Linked DNA regions of Homo sapiens: region 2 is linked to region 1. Evidence: promoter capture Hi-C in human tissues and cell types (Jung and others, 2019). All regions are on one chromosome and are shown on one strand. Each heading gives the region's core, a stretch centred on a gene start or on the middle of the fragment in contact. The rest is flanking DNA. Distances are from core to core; before and after follow the strand shown. Region 1 holds the start of CXCR6 (C-X-C motif chemokine receptor 6). Region 2 has its middle 14 kb from the start of LTF.

Region 1 (2,700 bases), core at 197-2,696:
GTGTATGTGTTATTGATTCACATGGGCAAAAACATATTTTTTCATCATTTAAAATATGAAACAGGTGGCTTTGCTCTTAAGAATAATGTTCAGCTCCCCATTATTGCTTGACTCGCTCTCGCCTTTTTTTGGTATCTTCCTGTTCCAGCTTTTGCTGGTCCCTTATGCTGCCATTACACATTTCCTCAAAGGACCTGTGCAAATTCATGTGTAATAATTGGTAAACTTTGATGTATAATAATTGGTAAACAGATTGGGCCTGGACAGTGCTGTGCAAATAGAGTATGAAAAATTACTTTCCCTTCTAGGCGAACTAAAAACATTCATTTCTTTATCCTCTATAATTAAAATCCTATTTTGTTTTCTGAAAATTAAAAAAAAAATCTACAACTTTGGAAGTAGTGTAAAAGTCTGATAATGATGAAGCAAATTACAATTCATACATAAAATAGAATATACTTAAATGTTTAGGAAGTATTTTTACTGATTTTGGAAAATGCAATACAGTTAAATTGCTAAGAACAGTGTAAACACAAAGTAAATATGCAAAATAAGTATTAACTATTACTATTACAACAAATAGATGTCAAAAGGATATAAAATTGTGATTCTTAACCTTTTTTGACCATAAACTCCTTTGAGAATCTCCTAAAAACTGCAGACCTTTTCTCAGAAATAATGTATATATATATACACACACACACACACACACAGACACACACGCACACACACAAACACCCCTACAATTCTGGGAGTCCATGAACCCCTTGAATCCTTCTGCCATGTATTCTGTGGGCCCTCACATAAGAGTTCATGATAAACTATGTGATTTTAACTGACCGTACTTTTAGAAACCTGGAAAAAATGATCACATTTTATTAACAGTTGGCCTCCAGCTGGTGGAATTATGGGTGACTTATTTCTTCCTTTTTTTAAAATAGTTTTCAAAGTTTCTACAGTAGTATGTTGATTTATATTGAAAAAAGAACATAAATGATAATCTGATAAAACAGCCTGTCTTATGCAAAAGAAATGAAAACAGAGATTATTCATTGAGCAAATATAGACAATAACTAGATTCTCCTTATCTCCCTGGGTGGGTCTGACTATGCCATTACTAGCAGTACCATCAGCCTGCAAGCACTAACTGTGTGCCTGGAAACATGTTCAGTAGTTTTCATGTTTCTCCAGTTTAACCCACACAGCAGCAAATGGCAGTGATGGAATTTGAACGAAGAGCAGCTGAGCTCCATAGCCTGGCATTTTGCACTGTACCCTACTACAGACAGGAATCTGAGAATACCAACAATACCTGGGGTTAGTCCTCCCTGTCTTCTTTTCAATATAAAGAGTAAAACAAATGACTCACCAGCAGAGATGCTTTGCCAGTTTGTTCCAGAGATGAGCTTGCTCATGAAGCAAGGTCTGCCTCTACTTCTGTGATGTGGTTCATGTTTCCGCTGAACATTTTTTAAGAGCCCTCAGCTGGTTACTATAAGAGACCCACCCCCTACTCCCGTCCTTCAGATCAGAATCCATATGACCAACCCGCCCCTGTGTAACGCGTGGGTCAGAGATGGATGGGTGACTGATACCCCACACTCCCTTCATTCTGCTTTGGGGCTGATTCTTCTGTCAGGGCCTGACGAGCTTTATTCGTAAACTAAAGGGGAACAATAAGGAGGTTTGGCTCTGGCCATCCACCGAAGATGGTGGCATTTGTACCTTAAAATTACTTAATTCACTAGTCAGACATCTTTTTGGAACAGTTAGGGTCTGGGCCAATGCTGAGTCCATGGTATGGGCTGGGTTCTGCGTGCATATGCAGCTCCAGCATATGTGATAGCTGTTAAGCCCCATAGCAGCCCTGCAGTGGATATTATCCTGCCTTTATAGATGAGAACACTGAGGACCATAGCCAAAATAACAAGCCCTGGTGCACACAGCTAGAAACTGGAAAATCGAAGATACACACTCAGGTATCTGTCATTACCAGACCAATCAACAGCATGATGATGGGTCTGCCAGAGGGCCTGGTGCAGCCCCACCTCCTAAGCCCACACCACTCAGGCACTCAGCAGGCAGTGCCCACCCACCCTGCGTAGGCTGGCTGGAATCATCTGGTTTCCTTGGGCTGCCCTCTGTACTCCTGGAATTCCCCAGATGTTGACTACTTTGATCTCAGTACAGTTCTAGTTGTCAGTCTCCATGATCTAACATTACTGACCCTTCTGGGAAATAACGCTGGAAGGCAGGAATTGGAGGCATGTCAGCCTGGGTCACATGCCCCAGTGCCTTGTAGTGGAGAGGGTACTAGGGAGAGGCATGGACTCGATGTCTGCTTTCCCAGAAGCAGCTGCCTTCTTGTGGAGGTGCCTGGCCTGCCTTCTCTGGCTCTGCACTCCCATTCAGGCTGCTTCTCTCCAATGCTGTTGCTCTCTCCCACCTGCTAGGCAAACCTTCTCATGTGGCTCTTCCTAAGGGCAAATGTCAAGCATTGGGAGCAGGGACCAGGAGCAGCCTCAGGATCCAGAGACTAACACTCATTTCTACCGCAAGCCTGGCCCTATGCTGGATGCTTCTATGTACAGCCATCTAATCCTAGTCACGTACAGATAGGCAAACAGAAGATTAGAGAGATTAGCCCACTTGCCCAAGAACACACATCCCTGGCAGTCACCCAGGACTGTCAGGCTGCAA
Region 2 (2,700 bases), core at 125-2,624, 540 kb before region 1:
GGTCTGTCAGTCTTACCATGATTAGAATGGAGCTTCTGATCCACCTCCTCCTCAATCTGCTTTATTCCCAGTCTTCCCCATCTCAGTTAATGAAACTACCTCCTTTTAGTTTCTCAGGCCAAACACCTTGGTGCCATCATCCACCTCTCTCCTTCACACCCCACATCCCCTTGTAATGTAAGCAAATCCCATGACCTCCTCCTTTAAAATATGTCAAGAATCCAGCCATCTCACTATTTCTCCACTGCCACATCCTAATCAAAGCCACTTCTGGCCGGGCGCAGTGGCTCACGCCTGTAATCCCAGCATTTTGGGAGGCTGAGGTGGGTAGATCACTTGAAGTCAGGAGTTCGAGACCAGCCTAGAAACCAGCCATGGTGAAACCCCGTCTCTACTAAAAATACAAAAATTAGCCAGGGGTGGTGGCACTTGCCTGTAATCCCTGCTACTTGGGAGGCTGAGGCAGGAGAATCGCTTGAACCCTGGAGGCAGAGGTTGGAGTGAGTTGAGATCGTGCCACTGCACTTCAGACTGGGTGACAGAGCGAGACTCTGTCACAAACAAACAAACAAACAAACAAACAAACAAACAGAAAAGCCACTTCATCTCTCTCCCAGGTCACTGCTGGAGCCTCCCTAATCATCTCTCTGCTCCCCACTTGTTCTGCCTCTCAGTCCATTCTCAGCCTTCTGCCTTGGCTCCTACATCCTCAGAGTAAAAGCAGATGGTCTTCTAGGTACCCACAGGGCCCCACAATTCCCGGGCCCTGTAATCTCCCCCTCAATCACTTGGTTCCGGCCAAACCCACTTTGTGGAGGTTGCTGGAAGATGCCAGGGTGGGAGAGAGGGGGCTATGGGGTTTTCCCTGCCTGTCACAGGTCAGGCTGCCCCTCCTCCAGAGCTGCCACAGGTGGGAGGCAGATTCCCTACCACGCACAGAGCCTTGGGCACAGGCGTGGTTCTCCATGCTTCTTCTGTTACCGTGGTCCATGGACATTCTCATCTCCTATGGTGGTAACTGACTATTCCCTTGTCTGTTGCCCTTGGGGGCAGAACTGAGTCTAACTCAGTTTGGTGACCCAGTACCTAACAAGGACCTGGTCCAGGATAAATGCTCTGTGAGGATGGCTTTAGTTGAGGGAACCCCTCTAAGTGCAAGGAGTCAGGAAGCTGGATTCTACCTGGCCGCACTGTGTCAGGTCTGAGCAGGCCACACGCCCTCTCTGGGCTTAGAGACCTCATTTGTAAAATGGCATAAAAAATATTATTTTCTGAGAGTGTCTGATTTTCTTGGTCAAATTATTTCAAGGTAGTAACCTCAAGCCAGAATATTTCCAAATATCCTGGAAATTGCTCACTTTTGTGACTCTTTCCTCCATTTCCAAATAGCCATCAGGTTCTGCTTCATCTACGAGGTCCCCAGGCCCACCCACTAGTTCCTCATTCTGCCAGTCATCTTCTGCCCTACCCTCTTCTGTCCTCCCCTTGGCCCTCTAGCATCTACGTTGCATCCTGCGGCTGCTTCCTCATCCAGCTGCACTGTCCAGGAAGATGGGGAGTGATGGTTAAGAGCGGGGTGGACCTGGCCTCACCCTTTGGTCCCTGGCACTCTCTAGGGACCCTGCTCATGCCTGCTGATAGCACTGTGGAGAGCAAAGTGTGTCACCTGCCCTTTGTCACCAACATAGCGACCTTCAGCCTCTGGGGAAGTGACTGAGTGGCCACATGGGTTCTGGGAAAGCTTCCCTTGTAGCCCAGAGACCCTTGGAGGGGGAGAGAGAAGATGTGTGGAGCAAAGCCAAGACTGACAGTCGGGACGCAGCTGGGTTACTGGTGAGCAGAAATTCAAGGAGGCTGCCCAGGCTGCTGAGAGGGGCCATTAGGAAAAGTCTCAGGGCAGTGGGGCGGGAAGAGGGCATGATGGTGAGAGAGACAGAGAACTGGAGAGAGAAGTGGACGTCATAAAAGAGAGAGGAGTGAAAGAGTTACAAAGGGTTGCAGATAACAGGACAGAATGTGGGCATAAGGAGTGTGGGTGTGGAGAGGGGCCCAAGGAATCACAAAGACAGATGTCTGTAAAAGGGCTGGGGCACGCTGCTGGGTTAGCTTGAGAAGGAAGACTGGGGAAAGTGGCTCCCGCTCGGCCCTCTGTCCTCCCTGTAGGGTGAACTTGCCTTTGCTAACACCTTCTGTTGGATTGTGACTCAACTGGAGCCGCCTGGGGAAAGGGAACTCTTTGCAGATTCCCAGGACTCTGCATAGGTTCTGGCTCACAACGGGGACCAGAAATGCATGGAAACAATAACAATAATAGTTAATATTGACTGAGTTTTCACTGTATGGTTTGGCCTTGTACTGAAAATCTTACATCCATTCATTTATTAATTCACACACCCATTCCTTCGTTCAAAAAATATCGATTGAGCAGCCCCTATGTGCTGGGCACTGTTCTAAGCATCTTTATAAGTTACTTCATTAAGTTCTAACAATTTTATGAGGGAGATGCTTTTAGTATTCCTATTTTCACATGGGGACACTGAAGCTGAGACAGGCTGAATGACGTGGCTAGATCTGGGGAGTGGGGAAGAGGTAGAGCTGGTTTCAAACTCCCCTGCCTGCGATGTTTAACCACTCTCATCACTGACCCTGCCTTTCAGGCACCAGACTACCCAGTGAATCAAAGGGACAAGGGAGTCGCCT

The links. Contacts are between HindIII fragments. The study calls those that stand out against the background at their distance.
Region 2: a contact is called between a fragment that was not itself captured here and the fragment with the promoter of CXCR6 in region 1, in 2 of the 25 tissues and cell types used here (mesenchymal stem cells and small bowel).

What each region holds. Positions count from the first base shown.
Region 1 is chr3:45,942,210-45,944,909 of GRCh38, reverse strand. It overlaps CXCR6 (C-X-C motif chemokine receptor 6), which reads right to left and starts at 1,446. Exons shown (of 2, transcript NM_006564.2): 1 at 1,370-1,446. All of the region lies in intron 14 of FYCO1 (FYVE and coiled-coil domain autophagy adaptor 1), which reads left to right. The HindIII fragment of the contact is 14,146 bases long and covers 1-2,700 here.
Region 2 is chr3:46,477,400-46,480,099 of GRCh38, reverse strand. It overlaps a transcript of LTF not described here. Among named protein-coding and RNA genes, the nearest start is that of LTF, 14 kb to the right of the region's middle. RefSeq lists enhancers at 1,174-1,673, 1,674-2,175. The HindIII fragment of the contact is 7,156 bases long and covers 1-2,700 here.